Regions from separate parts of the Homo sapiens genome. Here regions 1, 2, 4 and 5 are each linked to region 3. The links are contacts of gene promoters, found by promoter capture Hi-C in blood cells and fetal thymus (Javierre and others, 2016). All regions are on one chromosome and are shown on one strand. The core of a region is centred on a gene start or on the middle of the fragment in contact, and the rest is flanking DNA. Distances in the headings are between cores, read along the strand shown.

Region 1 (4,140 bases), core at 1,449-3,948, 7.5 Mb before region 3:
GAATGAATGAGTCAGGCAGGCCCAGCTCCACTTCACGGATGGGAAAACTGAGGTACGAGGCCTCGCTGAAAGATGCGAGGCAGAGCGGAGAACCAGAAGCACCACTTCTCTCAGGCTGATGCTCTAATCTCGGCTCCCCCCGCCCCTACAATGGCGTAGACGGCCTCCGCCGCCCGACTCACACACACCCTCCCCCGGGAACGGCAAGTCTCCTCGGGTTCCAAGGACAGGGTCAAAAGACAAGAGGCCCGAGGCGCTCCCGCCGTGATTTGCAGCCAGATACCGTTGGGAGCGCAGCCAGAGAGCGTTGGGAGCGTGCGTACCTCCAGCCCAACATGGCGGCGGCAGCGGCCGCCCCCGACCCCAAGCCCTCCCTCAGGGCCCGAGGCTTCTCCTCAGGGCCTTCCGGTGGGCGGGAAGACAGCGCAACCCCGCCAGGCCTTTCTCGTCGCTGCGCCTGCTCGCTGAAGGAGTCACCTACCCGACGAGACTAACGGCTGCGGCGCGGAAGCCCCACAGCCCGCCGAGAACCAGGAATACGAGAGCCAGGCGGCGCGGCGGCGGGACCTGTACTGAGCAAGAAAGAAGATTTCAAAGTAATTTATTGTTATGAGATCCGTGCTTTTATCTTGTCTCAGACTCCCAATGATAGGCACATACTCTCCTCTGTACATTTAATGAAACTACTAAAATATTTCGATTTAAATCTTCCACCTATTTGTTTTCTGTGTATCCTACCTGTTCCCGACCTTGACATTTTCAAAGAATACAGGTTACTTATTTTGTTTTTTGGTGGTGGTGAGTTTTTTTGGGGTTTTGTTTTTTGGTTTTTGGTTTTATTTTTGGAGACAGGGCTTTGCTGTATCGCCCAGGCTGGAATACAGTGGCGCGATGATAGCTCACTGCAGCCTCGAACTCCTGGGCTCAAGGGACCCTCCTGCTTCAGCCTCCCGAGTAGCTGGGACTACAGGCCTGCGCCACCACGCCCGGGTAATTTTTTATTTTTTGTAGAGATGGGGTGTTCTATGTTGCCCAGTGTGGTCTCAAACTCTTGGGCTCAAGAGATCCTCCCACTTCTGCTGCCCAAAGTGCTAGGATTACAGGCATGAGCCACCGCGCCGGGACAGTTATTTTGTAGAGTGTTCTTTAATTTGGATGTACCTCATCTTTTATGTATCTTTGGGAGGAATACCACATAACTCATGTGGTTTATCCCATCGAGAGACACACAGTGTCAATGTGTTCCATTCTTGGTGATGTTAACTTTTATTACTTAGTGAAAATAATTCTAAGAGATTTCACCACTGTAGAGTGAATAAATGAATATGTGGGATTCATCAATGAATAAGTAAAAGGATGCCAACTGGCAAAAGAACTGAGTTGGGAGGATGGCTTGAGCCTGGGAGGTCGAGGCTGCAGTGAGCCGTGATGGCACCACTGCCCTCCAGCCTGGGTGACAAAGCAAGACCCCGTCTCAGAAAAAATTAAATAAATAAATAAATACCCAGCACCTGAACATCTCGGGCATTTCCTGTGCCTCTTATATTGGGTCCCTGGTTTCTTGGAGCGTATGTCTTTTTTTTTTTTTTCTTGGTTTAGCTTCTCATTTTTGTAAAAAACACGTTCTTATTTTGTTTACCATTTTGACAAAGGCGAATTTGGGTTAAAACTTTGGGACCCTTATAAGCTTGACAGTGTCTGTATTCTACCTCTTTTGGATGACACCTTAACTAGGTTTGAAATTTTAGGTTGAATGTGGTTTTCACTTAGAATTTTGAATTATATAACATTGTCTGCTAGCTTACAGTGTTTATCTTAAAATATGACAATTTGATTTGTGTTCTGTTACTGTTCTTTGTCTTTCAAAGCATTTAAAGGCCAGGCTCAGTGATTCATGCCTGTAATCCCAGAGTTTTGGGAGTACGAGGCAGGAGGATTGCCTGAGCTCAGGAGTTCAAAACCAGCCTGGATGACATAAGGAGACCCTGTTTTCATAAAAGTAAAAATAGGCCGGGTGTGGTGGCTCACACCTGTAATCCCAGCACTTTGGGAGGTCGAGGTGGGCAGATCACCTGAAGTCAAGAGTTTGAGACCAGCCTGGCCAACATGGTGAAACGCTGTCTCTACTAAAAACACAAAATATTAGTTGGGTGAGGTGGCATGCACCTGTAGTCCCAGGTACTCAGGAGGCTGAGGCAGGAGAATTGCTTGAACCCAAGAGGGCATGGTTGCAGTTGAGCCAAGATCGCGACACTGGACTCCAGCCTGGGCAATGGAGTGAGACCCTGTCTCAATAATAATAATAATAATAATTTTAAAAAACATTTAAAATTGTCTCTTCGTACTAGTTTTCTGAAATTTCACAGAAATGTGTTTTGGTGTGGTTCTTGTTTCTTTCGTTGTACAAGGTACTCAGTGGATCTTTGTATTAATATTTTGAAGACTCATGATCTGTGTTTCTAGAAATCGCCTTTTGTTTGTTCTGTGAAGTTTTCTTCCATTCATTTTTCTTCTCTCTTTCTGAAATTCTAAACATCCTTTTAGTTGGATGTTATAATTTCTGATTTCTTCTGGTAGTTTTGTCATCTTTCATCCCTTTTATTTTTATTTATTTTTATTTTTTGAGATGGAGTCTCGTTCTGTCGCCAGACTGGAGTACTGCGGCGCGATTTCGGCTCACTGCAACCTCCGACTCCCTGGTTCAAGCAATTCTCCTGCCTTAGCCTCCTGAGTAGCTGGGATTACAGACACCTGCCACCACACCTGGCTAATTTTTGTATTTTTAATAGAGACGGAGTTTCACCATGTTGGCCAGGATCGTCTCGATCTCTTGACCTCGTAATCCGCCCACCTCAGCCTCCCAAAGTGCTGGGATTACAGGCGTGAGCCACCAAGCCGAACCACGCATTGTCTATTTTCTCATTATTTATAGCATTGTTTTGCAGCATACTTGTTGGAGTCAAACATTTGTTACTATCCAATTATTATTATTGTTATTTGAGATGGCCTTTTGCTCTATCGCCCAGGCTGGAGTGCAGTGCTGCACTCCTAGCTCACTGCAGCCTCAACCTCCTGGGCTCAGGTGATCCTCCCACCTCAGCCTCTCAAGTAGCTAGGACCACAGGTATGTGCCACCACACCCAGCTAATTTTTTTATTTTTTATAGAGACGGGGTTTGACCGTCTCCAGGCTGGTGTCGAACTCCTAGGCTCAAGCAATCTGACTGCATCAGCCTCCCAAAGTGCTGGGATTACAGGTGTGAGCCACTGTGCCCAGCCCAACTATCATCATCTTTATTTTTATTATTATTATTTTTTGAGACAGAGTCTCACTCTGTCACCCAGGCTGGAGTGCGATGGTATAATCTCAGCTCACTGCAACCTCCGCCCCCGCCCGGTTCAAGCGATTCTCCTGACTCAGCCTCCCAAGTAGCTGGGGTTACAGGTGCTTGCCACCGCGCCCAGCTAATTTTTGTATTTTTAGTAGAGATGGGGTTTCACAATCTTGGCCAGGCTGGTGTTGAACTCCTGACCTTGTGATCTATCCGCCTCGGCTTCCCAACGTGCTGGGATTACAGGTCTGAGCCACCGCGCCTGGCCACTATCTTATTATTAAATAATGTTACATGCAGTGTCTTTGGGGAGAGAATTCAGTTTTTCAGAGACAGACTTTGCTCATTTCCTGATTTGTTCATTTTAATTCAAATAGTAAAAGCTTTAGAAAGGCATGAGGATTGCTTGACTCCAAGAGTTCAAGACCAGCCTGGGTAACAAAGCAAGACCCCATCTCTACAAAAAACACTTTTTAAATTAGCCAGGCCTTGTGGTATGTACCTGTAGTCTCGGCTACTGGGAAAGGTGAGTTGCGAGGATCTCTTGGGGCCAGGAGTTGAAGGCTGCAGTGAGCTATGATTGCACCACTTCGCTCCATCCTATGCAACAGAGCAAGACTCTGCCTCGGTCAATCAATCAGTAAAGATACTTATCAAAAGTAAGCAGACATGCAGGCAGATCACCTGAGGTCAGGAGTTCGAGACCATCCTGTCCAGCATAGTGAAACCCTATCTCTACTAAAAATACAAAAATTAGCCGGGTGTGGTGGTGGGCGCCTGTAATCTCAGCTGCTCGGGAGGCTGGGGCA
Region 2 (4,325 bases), core at 1,512-4,011, 7.3 Mb after region 3:
TACCTCTCTACTTTTATTTTTTTATTTTGCATCATATTAGGTGCACTTTAATATCTGGTTATCTCTCTCCTTGTGATAAAATTGATGATTGGGTTCAGATATTGTCAGCCTACTCCTCCATTATAAAGACCCATCAGTCTTTCATATGGTTTTAGCAGTCATTGGTGATCAGTAACAGTGACATTTTTGTTTTGTCCTTCAGGCTGCATTTATCATCTGCAGTACTTCTGTAATGAAGATCTTTCCATCATCAGTCCTTTCATTAACCTAATATTAGTTATTACAGGAGAGATCATCTTGTTGAAATATTATATGATCATATCTCTTCCCTGCACTTAAAATCCTGAAATGGCAGTCCGTTCATTAAAATAAATAATCCATACCCATTATATATTGAGGCACCAGCCCACTTCTTTGGAGCTTGGATGGTAACCACCTTCCAAACATGACATAGTCGCCTCTTATCTTACACAGAGCTGTCTGCTTCTCCCTGAATTCACAGTGTTTTCCTACCTCTCTAGTTTTATTCATGCTCTTTTCTGGAAAATGATTTCCTTCACACATCCTGCATCACAGTTCTTACTTCCAGCGTAAGCTTCACCAACTCTAAGTAGCATTACCTTCTACTCCTAGGTAGAATTTGCCTTTCCCTAATTTGCCCTTCCCCAACAGTGTCCTCTGCATATATTTCTACCATGTTCCCTTTTTAACCCTGTAGTTGAGCTTTTGTATTTACATGTCTTCCAAGTCTCTGAGTTGCTGCAAGAGTAGAAGCTTATGTAATTCTGTGTTGAGCACCAGAACCCAGCTCAACTACAGCCTCACATGTAGTTGCTTCGTCAACATCATGCTGGTTATTCCTAAATTAGCTAAAGGACTTAGAGGGAACCCATTTCTGGCCTCATTTTTGAAAAAAAAAAATGAATGAATGAATGTAGGTGTACAGTGGATGGAGGATATTTCTCTTATTTTTTTTTAAATCCCTAAAAATGTGAAATAGGTGTTTGGTGGGAAGCCTCTGTGATGGATCGTGGTGAAAATCATTAAAAGCATGTTCCTCCTATATGTGCCATCCCCACTCGCCAATGATGACCTAATTCACAGTGAGCTGGGGTACACTGTTACAGGCATCAGTGTCATTTGAGGACGTGACCGTGGACTTCAGCAGGGAGGAGTGGCAGCAACTGGACCCTGCCCAGAGATGCCTGTACCGGGATGTGATGCTGGAGCTCTATAGCCATCTCTTCGCAGTGGGTGAGCACAACTGACCTGGGAATCTTGGCTGGATCCTGTTGAGGAGATTTCCTTCCTCCTCATTGCAGAACGCAGTGGGATATCAAAGTATGTCATGACTCTTTTATCGGTTTGTCCTGGATTGTTTGTTTCTTTTGGGCACCTTCTAGTATTATTTTGTGCCCAGTGGAAAATGTTGACTTTTCTAATGAGCCAGTGTAAAGCTTCATTGAATGGCCTCTAAAACTGAAGAAGCTACACCCAAATCCAGTATCCTTTCTAATTAACAGGGTATCACATTCCCAACCCAGAGGTCATCTTCAGAATGCTAAAAGAAAAGGAGCCGCGTGTGGAGGAGGCTGAAGTCTCACATCAGAGGTGTCAAGGTGAGTAAGTTGTACCCGGGCAAATGTAGATATCTTTGCAGGGAACCATTACCAGTCTACCATACTTTTCTATTCCCTCCATTCCCCCAGTGATGGCCCGTAGATTGCCTCCTACTCCCAGTTTCCCATCAAACACTGTAAATGTGCTATAAATGTTAAATGTCCTATAGGGGCTGCCTTAAGAATTTTCCATTGGTGAATACTCAGGAATGGGATTGCCTGGTCCTGGAGATAAGTATACTTGACTAAATCAACCATATTGCTCTTCTGATGGGCTGCACCAGTTCACACTCCCCATGTGCAGTGCACAAGGATTTGCATTTGCACATCTTGCTTGCTAACACTTGGCATTAACAAAATTGGTGAATTTATAGCCCTACTGATAGGTGAAAGGGCTGTTTCATTTTTTTTTGTTTTTGGTTTTGGTTTTTTTGAGACAGAGTCTCACTCTGTCACCTAGGCTAGGGTGCAGTGGCACGATCTTGGCTTACTGCAACCTCTGCCTCCTGGGTTCAAGTGATTCTCCTGCCTCAGCCTCCCGAGTAGCTGGGACTACAGGCACCCGCCACCACACTCGGCTAATTTTTTGTATTTTTAGTAGAGACAGGGTTTCACCCTGTTAGCCAGGATGGTCTCGATCTCCTGACCTTGTGATCTGCCCACCTCGGCCTCCCAAAGTGCTGGAATTATAGGCGTGAGCCACCGCACCCAGCCTGTTTCATTGCTTAAGTGTTATTTTTCTAATAACTGAATGGTGAGAGCCTCTCATCTTATCTGTTATCTGATTGGCTTTTTCATTTGTTTGTTGCATTTTCTTACCGCTTATCTCTTTACGTCCATGGAGTTTTCTGCCTTTTTTTTCCAGTTTTTTTGCCCCTAATTTTATTTATTTTCTTTTCTTTGCTGGATCTGCTGTCTTCTTTTCCTCCCAGTTGTGGCACCTCTAGCTTGGGGCCCTGTTCTTCCATATGGGCATCTTTTCTTTTTTTTGAGGCAGAGTTTCACTCTTGTTGCCCAGGCTGGAGTGCAATGGCACGATCTTGGCTCACCGCAACCTCCGCCTCCCAGGTTTGAGTGATTCTCCTGCCTCAGCCTCCCAAGTAGCTGTGATTACAGGCATGCACCACCATGCCCGGCTAATTTTGTATTTCTAGTAGAGACGGGGTTTCTCCTTGTTGGTCAGGCTGGTCTCGAACTCCCGACCTCAGGTGTTCCGCCTGGCTTGGCCTCCCAAAGTGCTGAGATTACAGGCGTGAGCCACCGTGCCCGGCTATGGGCATCTTTTCCCACAGGAATTGACTTAAAGGACCCATCCATTCTGAACTCTTAGTCCTCATATTTTTATTCTAATGATTTATATATCAGTACCTCTAGTCCCTGTGCTTAAACTGTGTTCTGCTACCTTACTTAGCTCCACGGAGGACAGTTCCCATGAGATGACTCACTTCCTTAATTTTGGGAGATCAGAAATTGGAATCATCATCATCCAAATAAGGAATTCTCACCTGATAAATTTTGTGAGATTTTTCTGTTTCTGGGCTCAGAAACACAGTCCTCTAATTTAATTTATTACTTTGGAATTCTTACCAGTTTTTCTTGTTTTAATTAAGAAAAAAGTGACCCTTTTTCTTAATCCCAGTGGTATTACAACAAACTAGATCCCCATTTTCTCATATTTAGACAATTTTGTTCCCAGTGAGATATGTTGATTTCAGGTTTTTGAGTTTAGTCAAGATACTGACAGATTTTATGACCCCAAACATGGCTATTTTGTTTCTTTTTTCCTCAGTAGATATGATAAAAACAGGCAGTTCTATTTCCTACTGTGTAGGATTAACAAATTCTTTTCAGTGATATTGTCCTCATGGCCACATATTTCCAATTTAAAAATATACCTGAATAGTTTTCATCACTCATGCTCTGCTCCATTGTTTTTGTATGTTGTTTAATGTCTACTCCATAGAATGATTCACTTTGCATACACTCTGCTGATTACTTTGTACTTTCTTAATCTTCATTATATCAATGTTTAGCATGAGGAAACCATTGTATTTAAGATATAGGATTAGGATTTTTGTATTTAGGATACAGAAATTACTGATTTTCTGAAAATGGGCAGAAAAGAATATTTCACAGTATTTTAAAAGGATGCTTTAAATATTTGCTGAGATAAATTCAAAAGAACGGAGATTGTATTTGGATGGAGAGGACAATGGCATTAAATGTTAAAAGTATTAGCCTTTGTGCATCAATCATGTCTATTTCATGGAAGGCTACTCAAAAAGTAAGTGTATCAACATGGGAAGCATGGATAGCAAATGCTGGTGAAGTTCAGAAAAATGATGTCAGCCTAGAGGTGGAGTGACATTGGGAATTAATTTTAAGGGCATAGTACCTATAACTGGTTCAAGAAGCCATTTTGAATTGAAACAAAGAAGCAGATGAAGCAAGCTTAATGGGAATAGAGGACATGAGAGTGTGCTTGGATTTGAGAATAAATTGGACTTCTTTTTTGCAATCGACATTGTTAGGCTGTGTTGGAGAGTTGTGGAAAAGCTTTTCAGTACAGTTCTGATAGTTTACATTGAACATTTTGGGCAGTAATTTAAGTGTTACCAGGTTCAGCAAGATTTTTATGACCTGAATAAAGTGAGAAGTTAAAAATGTTTCAGATCGCTGCCTGGGGACACAGTGGAAGATTGCCAG
Region 3 (4,071 bases), core at 170-2,669:
CCCTCGGCCCCCTCAACCAGCTGCTTTTGTTCATGAACATTTCATATTAACAGACCTAAATCAAATACAGCTCTCTGTGTACTCCTTCTGAACTTTAGTTTCCAAGGAAATGAGACACAGACAGGCAGGGGAATGTAACAGAGCCAAAATGCCTGGCTTCAAATTTTGGCATTTCTACCTATTTTCAACTGATCAGCAGTATAAACCTTAAGCGAATTATTAATCTCTCTGTGCCTTAATTCAGTTACCTGTGAATGGGGACAATAATAATGCCTGTATTCTCTATTTCCTGCAGCTTCTGACAAGCAAGTGCTATTATGCTTCATAAAACTGCCCTTTTGAGTATGCTTTCTAGAAAATGAATCTTTTAAGAAACCCAGAACTCAAAAATAATTGCTCTGTCCTGTGAGTTACCATTACCCTCAGAAAAGTCTGTAACTGTGATTGGTTGTCTAACATAATTAGTTCCGTTGGTAATGATAGTTAAACTGCCACAGGTTTTTTTTTCCTCCAACAGATGTAATTACTTGCAAATGTTACTAAGCTGGAGGAGCCTCAAGAAAGTCTCTTTTTCCACATGCATGAAAGCAATGACTAATAAAAACCTAAAACTCTCTAAGAAATGGTGTTACACTTAAGTTAACCACACGGGATTATTGGTTATAACCACATTATACTGAACATTTATTAGGGCCTCAGGACACCTCTGGCACTCTGCAAATCCGTAATGACGATCGCTTATCTGAGATAAAACACACAGGACATTCCCCAGGCTCCGCTGGAACTAATTCCTGTCTCCTAAACAAGAGGCTAGAAAAGTCCAAGAATCCAGGAACGGCCCCACATCAGGCAAGGATTAGAGAAGGGACAGCGGCTCCGTAGCTGGATCTCCTAGACTCAGAGGAGTTTCCAAACAACAGGCGTCTTTTTCAGTATTATAACAGAATTAACGGTGGCATCCAACATTTTCCTATGCACTGGTTTTAAGCTTATTTCTATAAAACCTCATTTAATTCTCACAAGAACATCACTGGGAACGCACTAACCCTTTACAGGCACGAGGAAACTGAGACAAGGAGAGATTAAGTAACTTGCCCAATATTTTACTGCGAGGAGCAGGCAGGACTGGCTGGTAGGTGCGTGAGGACGGCTAGGGCAGCAGACCCTCAACCTCGAAGGACGACGCGAGCCCGCCTCCCACGCAAGAGGTTCTGCCGAGGGGACGCAAACTCCCGCAGCCTCCCAACCCCGCCCTCCAGCGCTGGCCGCGGCTTCTCTTCCCCAAGCCAAGGACGGGTTCATTGCTGGCCCCACGCCTAGGCAAAGAGGGCTCGGAGAAGTCTTGGAGACCCGGAGCTGACTCACCTCCCTGGGAGATATCTCAGATCCGACCTCGCCTTCCTGGAGCGGAAGTGCCTCCGAGTGCCCACGGTTCGTGGACTCCACTTCCCAGAATTCCTAAGCGGAAGCGTCTCAGAGTTCTCTCACTCCTGGACTACAGTTCCCAGAATGCTCCAAGGGCAGCGCTTCCCACCAGCTGGGCTTTGTTTTGACTCAAGCCGGTTGGGTTTGAGCCACTTCTCTGGTGCTACTACTGTGAGATTCGTTTTTGTTTTATTCATTTTTAAAAGCTCATGAGAAAATAATTGTAAAATTTTTAAAGTGATGACATATAAAAATGAAAAGTGCAGCTTGTATTATTAAAATAAGTTAGAAACCAAAATTTTTCGCAGAAGCAGAGGGTAGGCTAAAATGGGAAGCGTAAAAGTGACTTAGGCTGAGCTCCGATGGACGCTGAACGTTAAGGAACACCAGATCTCAAACTTGTGTCAAATGCCGGCTCCCCAAATATCATCAACTCAACCTGTTGATAAGACAAAAAACAGAATTTATTGTTGATTGCAGTAATGGAGAACAACACTTCGACGGAGCGTTGGCACCTTCACAGAGCAAAGTGTCAAGGCAAGGTTGGAACTGATTGAGAACTGGATGTTTAAGGCGGGTCTTTCAATGCAAGGGATTTTATTAGTATTGCATAATGATCATGATACTACAGTCCAGGATTGGTGGATATAGCAAGGATTTTTGAAGCAAAGAATCTTAAATTGCAATCTATTGACACTTTCTTTGGAAGAGATTGAAAATTTGATGGGTCTCTGTGGAAGTTCCCATAATGAACAATTAAACAGTTTGCTTGGGCAGGAATCTCCTGGAATAAAGGCCTGCTGATGAAGACAGCTGAACAATCATGTTAGTGCCGAAAGTAAATTGTGATGAAACGGGAAAAGTTCACTTCTCCCTCTCCCAGGGCATGTGATGGGGTGTGGCTCGCTTCTTCGTGCCCAGCCGCTCAAACCTCTAGGGGAGCATGCACACGGGCAGGTTGTAGGGCTCCAACCCCACGGCAGTGTCTAGGGGTGAATGTTTACAGCTCCTGAAGCCCCAGTGGGCGTGTGTTATAGGGTGCTTTTTTAGTTCAGCCATCTGTAGGAGGCTTGTGTTAGCTCAATTAGACCCCTGACTTATCGCAAGCAAGAGAGGGCTTTCTGTATCCCAGAGGTTCTTGCCTTGGTGTACCAGAAGAATCGCATCACACATAGGCTTGGAGAAAGAGTGCAAGGATTGGAGAAACCTTGGAGAACGATTTGTAAGTAGCTCTCAGCAGAAGGGGGAGCCAGAAGGGAGATGGTTTTCGCCTGGAGTCAGCCTCTCAGCGGCCTGGGCGCTCCTCCGACTACCCAGGCCAAACTGCGTTATTCCACCGGTTAATGGCCTGCTGGCCTGCCGGTCTCTTCAGTGTGCTCTTTTGCCGACCCGCTCCCCTCGACAGCCTCTCGACAGCCAGCTGTTTGTGTGTCCGCCAATGCTCTCCTCTCAACGTCCAGCAGCTTGTGTCTCTGCCTGCTAGGGTATCAGGGTTTTTATAGGCACAGGATGGGGGCGTGGTGGGCCAGGGTGGTCTTGGGAAATGCAATATTTGGGCACAAAGGCAGGAATGCCTGTCCTCACCTAGGTCCGTGGCCACAGGCCTGGGGGTAGAGCCCTAGTCAGGGACCACACCCTTCTCCCCTCCAGCACTTCCATTCCCCTCTTCCGTATCAGTGAGGGGCAGGGAAAGAGGATGGAGTTTTAGTCCTTAGTGTCCAAGTTGTGTATATTTAGGGGTCGGTGACAAGGAGAGAAGGGAGTAAAGTGTTTGACTCTTTTCCCTCCATTATTCCTCAAGGTACCTAAGGGCTCATGACAGTGTTTTGTTTAATGTGCTATTCGTTCTAATATACTAAGAACCCACAAAAAGGCAATATAAATATTAAGCCAGAGAAATATCTTGAACTTCATTTATTTTAAATGTGTACTGTTATGGCAAACAAAAGCAGCTCCATTGGCCGGGAATCTAAGACAACGTTGTAATATGGGCATGTGTAAAATCTTGAATTGTTTTCTAATTTGTGTTCGGCTTCAAATATTTCATTACATACTTTGATCCTGATCCTGACATAAATGAAATTAAGTGTCTTATGGTTGAATAAACTAGATGAAACAAAGAAGCCGTGATTTTTCTCCTAGGCAGGTATAAATATACAGGTGACCATTGAAAAACACAAGGGTTAGGGGAGCTGACCCCTGGGCAGTTGAAAAATCTACCTGTAAGTTTTGACTCCCCCAAAACTTAACTTACTTAACTACCAATAACCTGTTGACCAGAAGCCTTACCAATAACATAAACAATTAACATATATATGTGTATATATATATATGTTTTTTGTTTTGTTTTTTGAGACAGAGTCTTGCTCTTGTTGCACAGGCTGGAGTGTAATGGCACCTCCCGGGTTCAAGCAATTCTCCTGCCTCAGCCTCCCGAGTAGCTGGGATTACAGGCATAAACTATCATGCTCAGCTAATTTTGTATTTTTTTTTTTTTTTTAGAGACGGGGTTTCTCCATGTTGGTCAGGCTGGTCTCGAACTCCCGACCTCAGGTGATCTGCCCGCCTTGGTTGGACTGTATTCTTACAATAAAGCTAGAGAAAATAAAATGTTATTAAGAAAATCATAAGGAAGAGAAAGTATTT
Region 4 (4,241 bases), core at 1,196-3,695, 7.1 Mb before region 3:
TGGAGGAGTCCGCCTCCTGGAGTGTTGACTAGAGTAAGGCAAGGATTTTCACATAGAATGCAAGACTGTAACCAGTGTGACCACGCTTGTACCCAAGAAGAAGTTCCTGAAGATAGGATCTGGAGCTTTATGTTTTTTTTTGTTTGTTTGTTTGTTTTGAGACAGAGTCTTGTTCTGTCGCCCAGGCTGGAGTGCAGTGGCGCCATCTCGGCTCACTGCAACCTCTGCCTCCCAGGTTCAAGCGATTCTCCTGCCTCTGCCTCCCGAGTAGCTGGGATTACAGGCAAGCGCCACCACACCCAGCTAATTTTTTTGTATTTTTAGTAGAGACGCAGTTTCACGTCTCTACTGGTCACGCTGGTCTCGAACTCCTGACCTCAAATGATCCACCCACCACGGCCTCCCAAAATGCTGGGGTTATAGGCGTGAGCCACCGCCTCCGGCTGTTATATTTACAATACCTAAGTTACCCCTTGGTTACGGCACACTGCAGAAAACAACGATTTACTAGGAGAAACCATGGGGGAACTAGGAAGCCAGGGATCCTGAGAGAAATAAGGGAGATAAGAGGAGGCATCAGGATGGTACAATCTATTTTTTGGAGACACCACTCAGGAGAAGGGTGGACTGGGATCTGAGTTCACTCCTGGGTGAAACCACTAGGCAAGACGGAGTTATGTCACAGTAGGTAGTATCCTGCAGGAAGGGAGGTACAATTTTTAGTAGTTGAAAACACATTAGGAAATAGGGTAGAAGTTGGGTTAGTACAATCCTCTTCTAGGAGATACCATGGAAGAGGGGTTAGAAGTCTAAGCATCCCCTTTGAAACGGCTGGTAGAAGGCTTTGGGAGGTATAGATATTTTAATCCCCTTAATCTCCATCAGCATCCACCCTAGCTAACTCAAGCACAACTATAGTAAGCAGCAACAATAAAAATAATAATAGTCTTGGCTGGTCGTGGTGGTTCATGCCTGTAATCCCAGCACTTTGGGAGGCCGAGGCGGGCACATCACCTTAGGTGGGGAGTTCGAGACCAGCCTGACCAACATGGTGAAACCCCGTCTCTACTAAAAATACAAAATTAGCTGGGCATGGTGGTGTGTGCCTATAATCCCAGCTACTTGGGGGGCTGAGGCAGGAGAATCGCTTGAACCCAGAAGGCGGAGGTTGCAGTGAGCCGAGATCATGCCATTGCACTCTAGCCTGGGCAACAAGAGCAAAACTCCATCTCAAAACAACAACAACAACAACAACAGCACAATAATAATAATAACAGTCTTTAATATGGCCAACGTGTGACTAAAAACACCTGAAGAAAATCTTGCTTTTTTTTTTTTTTTTTTTTTGAGACAGAGTCTCACTCTGTCACCCAGGCTGGAGTGTAATGGCACAATCATGGCTCACTGCAACCTTGACTGCCCAGGCTCAAAAGCAATCCCAGCTGGGCGCAGTGGCTCATGCCTGTAATCCCAACGCATTGGGAGGCCGAGGCAGGTGGATCATGAGGTCAAGAGATCGAGACCATCCTAGCCAACATGGTGAAACCCTGCCTCTACTAAAAATACAAAAATTAGCTGGGTGTGGTGGCGTGCGCCTGTAGTACCAGCTACTTGGGAGGCTGAGGCAGTAGAATCACTTGAACCCAGGAGGTGGAGGTTGCAGGGAGCTGAGATGGAGCCACTGCACTCCAGCCTGGTGACAGAGTGAGACTCCAAAGAACTGGGATTACAGGCGTGAGCCTCCGAGCCCGGCCAGGGAGTTTTGTTTTTTTTTTTTTTTGATTGCAAAGAGATGTTGAATTTTGTCAAATGCTTTTTCTGTTTCTATTGAGATGACCATATGATTTTTGTCCTTCATTCTGTCAATGTGATGTATTGCACATACTAATCTGCATATGTTAAACCATCTTTGCTTCCCTGGGATAAGTCCCACTTGATCATTGTGTATCTTTTTGACATGCTATTGGATTTGGTTTGCTAGTATTTTGTTGAGGATTTTTGCATCTGCGTTTATCAGGGATCTTGGCCTGTAGTTTTCTCTTTCTTCTGTCTTTGCCTGGTTTTAGTATGAGGATGGTGCTGGCCTCACAGAATCAGTTTGGAAAAATTCCTTCCCCTTCAATTTTTTTGGATTAGTTTGAGAAATATTAGAATTTGTTCTCCCTTAAAAGTTTGGTAGAATCAAATCCAAGAAGGGGATGATGAGAACCTCTAATTTTCAGGCAAACTGGGCAGTTGTTGGTAATCAGGTGACCTAGTAGTTGTCATTGGCATCTGAAGAGGTGGGCAGTCTTGTGGGACTGAGCAATTAAACTGTAAGGTCTGTGCTAACTCAGGTTAGTGTCAGAATTGAATTCAATTGTAGGACACCCATGTAGGGAGGGCTGGAGAAGTGGTGTCAGAAAAACTCCACATATTTTGTGTTAAAAACGAAACATTCTGGAAGTATTGAGTGTTGTGAGAGTATATATTTTTAAAACCAGTTTGTTTTTCCTATGCAACTGTATAAAAAGACATATCAAGTCTCACTCCCCCCACCACCCCAATCACTATAGGTTATCACTATAGGTATTGTTTCTGGTTCACGTTTCCAATACTTCTTTTTTCCTATCTTTTCTTTTTTTAGTGAATATAAACAAATGCTTATATCTAATCTAATTTCCTTTTCTTTTTTAGACGAACTATATGTTACACTGTTCTATACTTTCCATTTTTTATATATTCCAGAGTTAATGTCATTCCGTAGAGAGCTTCGTTTTTTTTTTTTTCTGCTGTGTGTGTATGGGCTGCATAAAACTTTATGATGTGACTGTGGTGATTTGAGCTGCTACCTTTATCAAATACTAAGCATCTATGTGGATGTTAATTTCTTTTTTTTTTGAGATGAAGTCTCACTCTGTCACCAGGCTGTAGCGCAGTGGCACAATCTCAGCTCACTGCAACCTCTGCCTCCCAGGTTCAAGCGATTCTCCTGCCTCAGCCTCCCGAGTAGCTGGGACTACAGGCGCGTGCCACCACACCCAGCTAATTTTTGTATTTTTAGTAGAGACGGGGTTTCATCATGTTGGCCAGGATGGTCTCGATCTCTTCACCTCATGATTCACCCGCCTTGGCCTCCCAAAGTGCTGGGATTACAGGTGTGAGCCACCGTGCCTGGCCGGGATGTTAATTTCTTTCTTTCTTTCTTTTTTTGAGACGGAGTTTTGCTCCTGTTGCCCAGGCTGGAGTGCAGTGGCTTAATCTCGGCTCACTGCAACCTCCGCCTCCCAGGTTCAAGCAATTCTCCTGCCTCAGCCTCCTGAGTAGCTGGGATGACAGGCGCATGCCACCATGCCCAGCTTATTTTTTGTATTTTTAGTAGAGATGGGGTTTCATCATGTTGGCCAGGCTGGTCTCGAACTCCTGACCTCAGGTGATCCACCCACCTCGGCCACCCAAAGGGCTGGGCGTGAGCCACCGCGCCCGGCCATGGATGTTTATTTCTCCATTTCCCATCCTCCTCCCTTTGTCTGTCTCTCTAACCACACACAAATAGCACACTGTTTTAAGTATAGAGGCTTTATCATGTACCTCATATAACTTCATGTAACTTCAATTCTACTTTCTGTCTCTATGAATACACCTATTCTAGGCACCTCATATAAGTGGATTCATACAATATTTGTCCTTTTGGTCTGGCTTATCTCACTCCGCATAGTGTTGAAAAAGAAAATAAATGGCTTTTATCTGAGGAATGCAAGCCTTCTTTATGTGATCAAGCCCAGAGAGGGGTTGGGATGACACAGCTGTTGTGGTGGCTCATGCCTGTAATCCCAGCACTTTGGGAGGCCTCGGTGGGAGGATTACTTGAGGCCCGGAGTTTGAAACTAGACTGGGCAACATAACTAAACCCTCTCTCTATAAATTTTTTTTTCAATTAGCCAGGTGTGGTGGTGTACACCAATAGTCCCAGCTACTCAGAAGGCCTAGGCGGAAGGATGCTTAAGTCCAGGAGTATGAGGCTGCAGTGAGCTGTGATCATACCTCTGCATTCCAGCCTGGGAGACAGAGCAAGACCTTGTCTCTAAAAAAAAAAAAAAAAAAAAAAAATGCTGGGTGCAGTGGCTCACACCTGTAATCCCAGTACTTCGGGAGGCCAAGGCAGGCAGATCACTTGAGGTCAGGAGTTCAAGACCAGCCTAGCCAACATGATGAAACCCTGTCTCTACTTAAAAAAAAAAAAAAAAAAAAAAAAAAAAAGG
Region 5 (4,322 bases), core at 979-3,478, 7.6 Mb before region 3:
CACCAGTATGGATTTGTTGATGTTGAGTAAGTCGTAAACGAAGTCTAAAGGCCTTCCCACATTCCTTACAATCATAAGGTTTCTCACCAGTGTGAATTTGCTGATGTTGAAGTAGTGTTGAGCCAACAGTAAAAGATTTTCCACATTCCTTACAGTGATAGGGTTTCTCACCAGTGTGAATTCGCTGATGTTGAATTAGTGCTGAGCGAGAAGTAAAAGATTTTCCACATTCTTTACAATCATAGGGTTTCTCACCAGTGTGAACTGCCTGATGTCCAATTAGCCCTGAGCGAAAAGTAAAAGATTTTCCACATTCCTTACAATGATAGGGTTTCTCACCAGTGTGAATTCGCTGATGTTGAAGTAGTGCTGAGCCAGAAGCAAAAGATTTTCCACATTCTTTACAATTATAGGGTTTCTCACCAGTGTGGATTCGCTGGTGTCGATTGCGTGTTGAGCGAAAAGTAAAAGATTTTCCACATTCCTTACAACAATAGGGTTTCTCACCAGTGTGAATCCGCTGATGTTGAAGTAGTGCTGAGCCCGAAGCAAAAGATTTCCCACACTCCTTACAATCATAGGGTTTCTCACCAGTGTGAATTCGCTGATGTTGAATTAGTGTTGAGCCAGCAGTAAAAGATTTTCCACATTCTTTACAATCATAGGGTTTCTCACCAGTGTGAATTGCCTGGTGTCCAATTAACCCTGAGCGAAAAGTAAAAGATTTCCCACATTCCTTACAATCATAGGGTTTCTCACCAGTGTGAATTCGCTGATGTCGAATTAGAGCTGAGTGAAAAGTAAAAGATTTTCCACATTCCTTACAGTCATAGGGTTTCTCACCAGTGTGAATTCGCTGATGTCGAATTAGTGCTGAGCCTGAAGCAAAAGATTTTCCACATTCCTTACAATCATACGGTTTCTCACCAGTGTGAATTTGCTGGTGTCGAATTAGTGTTGAGCCAACAGTAAAAGATTTTCCACATTGCTTACAATGATAGGGTTTCTCACCAGTGTGAATTTGCTGATGTTGATTTAGTGTTGAGCCAGAAGTAAAAGATTTCCCACATTCTTTACATTCATAAGGTTTGTCACCAGTATGAATTCTCCAATGTTGAATAAGATGTGCAGACGGTCTAAAGGCCTTCACGGATTCCTGACACTCATGAGGTCTCTCATCTGTATACATTTTCTGGTGTTGAATAAGATGTGAGCCAGAAATAAAAGCTTTTCCATATTCTTTACATGCACAGGGCTTTTCCCCAGTATGAATTCTCTGATGTTTAACAAGATAGGAAAAGTGATGAAAGGCCTTCCCACACTCCTTACATTTATAGAGTTTTTCACCAGTATGGGTTTCTTGCTGTTGTGTAAGTTCTGAGCCATACTTAAAAGCCATACATTCTGTGGATTTATACAGTTTCTCTCCAGGATGAATCCGATGATGCAGAGTGAGAGATGTCTGTAGGCAGAAAGTTGGTGTTGTTTCATAAGTCATTATTGCTTTTTCCAAATATCGCTCCTGATTTATATCTTGGTGCTGAAACTGGCCTTTGCATTCCCAGTCATCTCTGACACTGGAGCCCACAAGGCTATGACATTTTTCCATTCTCACCCACTGAGATGATGTTACTTCATAGATTTCTTTTGGCAAACATGAATCTTTGGTCTTACATCTAAACTCCGAGTCTGAAAAATAACCAGAAAGCAAAAACATAGCATTTCCTTGTTGAGTAGAAATAAAAACATCTATGGTAGAAAGGGGAGACAAACTGAAAATAATGTCCTTAAGAATTAAAGATGTGTTGGGCGTGGTGGCTCATGCCTGTAATCCCAGCGCTTTGGGAGTCTGAGACAGGAGGATTGCTTGAGCCCAGGAGTTCAAGGCTGCAGTGAGCTGTGATTGTGCCACTACACTCCAGCCTGGGCCACAGAGCAAGACCCTGTCTTAAAAAAAAAAAAAAAAAAAAAAAGATGGTGTACATACATGGTATACATGGTGATAGTATGTACCCTTATATGATGTGATGAGAACAGTATTTTATCTCTGTGATCTTCCTTCTAAAAATACTGAACTCCAGTCTAATCACTGGAAAAACACCAGACAAATCCCAAAATGAGAGACAATCTATGAAATACCTGGCCAGTACTCTCCAAAACTATTGAGATAATCACAAACAAGGAAAGCCTGAAAAGCTGTCAAAGCAAAGAGGAGCCAAGGGAAACATAATGACTCAATGCAATGTGTTAGCCTAGCCAAGATCCTAGAATAGGAAAAAAGGACATTAGGTAAAAGCTAAGGAGGCCAGGCACAGTGGCTCACACCTATAATCCCAGCACTTTGGGAGGCTGAAGCGGGCGGACCACAAGGTCAGGAGTTCAAGACCAGCCTGGCCAACATGGTGAAACCCTGTCTCTATTAAAAATACAAAAATGAGCCAGACGTGTGGCCCATGCCTGTAATCTCAGCTACTCGGGAGGCTGAGACAGGAGAATCACTTGAGCCCGGGAGGCTGAGGTTGCAGTGAGCCAAGATCGTACCATTGCACTCCAGCCTAGGCAACAAAAACCAGACTCCATCTCAAAAAAAAAAAAAAAAAAAAAAAAAAGCTAAGGAAATCTGAGTAAAGTAGGGGTTTCCATTAATAATAATAGATCTCAGCACCATAGGAAAGGTAAATAATAATAACAACATTGCTTCAACAATGTTATTATTTAATAGGATCAACATTCATTCATTAATTATGACAAATGTACAAATATAAAATGTTAATGGGAAACTACATGTGATGTATATGGGAAGTCTCTGTACTAACCTCACAACTTTTCTGTAAGTCTAAAACTATCCTAAAACCTAAAGTTTACTTTTTTAAAGTGAGAAAGTAACATCTCACTAGCAAAAAGGCCAAGCAAATTTTTGTAAAAGACACAAATGGGGTATCAGTATCTAAAAATTAAAAAATGAATCATTGAAACTTAAAATTCAATGAATGAATTTGAATTGGCAGTATAAGAGTGCAATCATGATTTTTAAAAAATACTATACATCTTCATCCATTGAAGCCTTAGAAACAACCAATCTGGCAGCAATGAACACGCTAATGACAGATTACTGTCTCTAAATACCATTTCTTACTACACAGAACCTAGGCTCCTTGGAGCATCTTGGGATTAGAACAGAAAGTGTGCATTATGAGCATGGAAAAAGCTGGCATATTAGAAAAGCAAAGAAGCTTATTCAAGACTCCTAGGGTCATGTCAAAAAGACTCAGGAACCATTGTGAAGAGGGTCCCATTGGCCAAAGATGGGACAAGTTGAGCATGAATTCAAGAATAAAAACTGTAATCATTGTAATGTAATTACAATAAATCACATCAAATTTTTTTAAATCTGTGTGTTCATAAGGACAATTTTAAAATTACCTAGTAATTTTTAGGGGATGAGATGAGGAATGGCTGCTAACTTCACAAAAACAGAAACAACCAGATATGTGCTTCTTGATGAAATACACAATACTAATATCACATAGTCTGTTTATAGGAAAGAAAGGAGTAAAGGGAGGAGAGCTAAATGTTAAATGACAGATGATCCAGTTTCTTCAACATATAAATTTCAAGGAGAAAAAGAGAAAGAAATCAACAACAAAACCTCACTGGAATGGTTAAATAACTGGAAATGCAAAAGCAAGGTTAAAAGTCATAAAGAAAAGTCAAAGAATTCATTTGTCTTCCTGAAAGTAATACTGAAAGAACAGGGAGCAAACTATATTCAAGATGGAACAGCTAAAATTTATTCAGAAGTGATGAGGTTTTCTAAAAAAAATCTGAGGTGCCATGAGTGCCATGGATGGTAAATTTTAAAAGTTCTACGGGGCCAGGTGCGGTGGCACACGCCTGTAATCTCAGCACTTTGGGAGTCTGAGGCAGGTGGATCACCTGAGGTCAGGAATTCAAGACCAGCCTGGTCAACATGACAAAACCCCGACTTTACTAAAAATACAAAATAAGCCAGGCATGGTGGTGCACGCCTGAATTCTCAGCTACTCAGGGGGCTGAGGCAGAAGAATTGCTTAAATCCAGGAGACAGAGTTTGCAGTGAGCCGAAATTGTGCCACTGCATTCCAGCCTGGGCGACAGAGCGAGACTTCATCTCAGGAAAAAAAAAAAAAAAAAAAAAGTAAAAGTTCTATAAGCCAGGCATGGTGGTTCATGGCTCTAATCCCAACACTTTGGGATGCCAAGACTGCAAGATTACCAGAGCCCAGGAGTTCAAGACCAGCCTGGGCAACAGCCTGGGACACTGTCTCAAAAAAAAAAAAAAA

Evidence for each region. The method cuts DNA at HindIII sites, captures the fragments that hold promoters and counts their contacts. A CHiCAGO score of 5 or more calls a contact.
Region 1: a contact is called between a fragment that was not itself captured here and the fragment with the promoter of ZNF235 in region 3, in 1 of 17 cell types (non-activated CD4 T cells). The highest score is 6.9, in non-activated CD4 T cells.
Region 2: a contact is called between a fragment that was not itself captured here and the fragment with the promoter of ZNF235 in region 3, in 1 of 17 cell types (activated CD4 T cells). The highest score is 5.4, in activated CD4 T cells.
Region 4: a contact is called between a fragment that was not itself captured here and the fragment with the promoter of ZNF235 in region 3, in 1 of 17 cell types (total CD4 T cells). The highest score is 5.7, in total CD4 T cells.
Region 5: a fragment that was not itself captured here is called in contact with the fragment with the promoter of ZNF235 in region 3 in 1 of 17 cell types (naive B cells); the score reaches 6.2 in naive B cells.

What each region holds. Positions count from the first base shown.
Region 1 is chr19:36,775,563-36,779,702 of GRCh38, forward strand. LOC728485 (a long non-coding RNA gene) reads left to right here. Exons shown (of 2, transcript NR_164117.1): 2 at 1-1,516. Among named protein-coding and RNA genes, the nearest start is that of ZNF850, 4.8 kb to the left of the region's middle. The HindIII fragment of the contact is 2,027 bases long and covers 1,686-3,712 here.
Region 2 is chr19:51,580,264-51,584,588 of GRCh38, forward strand. It overlaps ZNF175 (zinc finger protein 175), which reads left to right. Exons shown (of 5, transcript NM_007147.4): 3 at 1,128-1,254; 4 at 1,524-1,619. Among named protein-coding and RNA genes, the nearest start is that of ZNF175, 11 kb to the left of the region's middle. The HindIII fragment of the contact is 2,613 bases long and covers 1,456-4,068 here.
Region 3 is chr19:44,303,606-44,307,676 of GRCh38, forward strand. ZNF235 (zinc finger protein 235) reads right to left here and starts at 1,420. Exons shown (of 5, transcript NM_004234.4): 1 at 1,366-1,420. RefSeq lists enhancers at 1,203-1,756, 2,333-2,834, 2,835-3,334. The HindIII fragment of the contact is 5,796 bases long and covers 987-4,071 here.
Region 4 is chr19:37,210,753-37,214,993 of GRCh38, forward strand. No RefSeq gene overlaps it. Among named protein-coding and RNA genes, the nearest start is that of ZNF585B, 2.3 kb to the left of the region's middle. The HindIII fragment of the contact is 8,273 bases long and covers 1-4,241 here.
Region 5 is chr19:36,749,116-36,753,437 of GRCh38, forward strand. It overlaps ZNF850 (zinc finger protein 850), which reads right to left. Exons shown (of 5, transcript NM_001193552.2): 5 at 1-1,689. Among named protein-coding and RNA genes, the nearest start is that of ZNF850, 22 kb to the right of the region's middle. The HindIII fragment of the contact is 2,006 bases long and covers 1,226-3,231 here.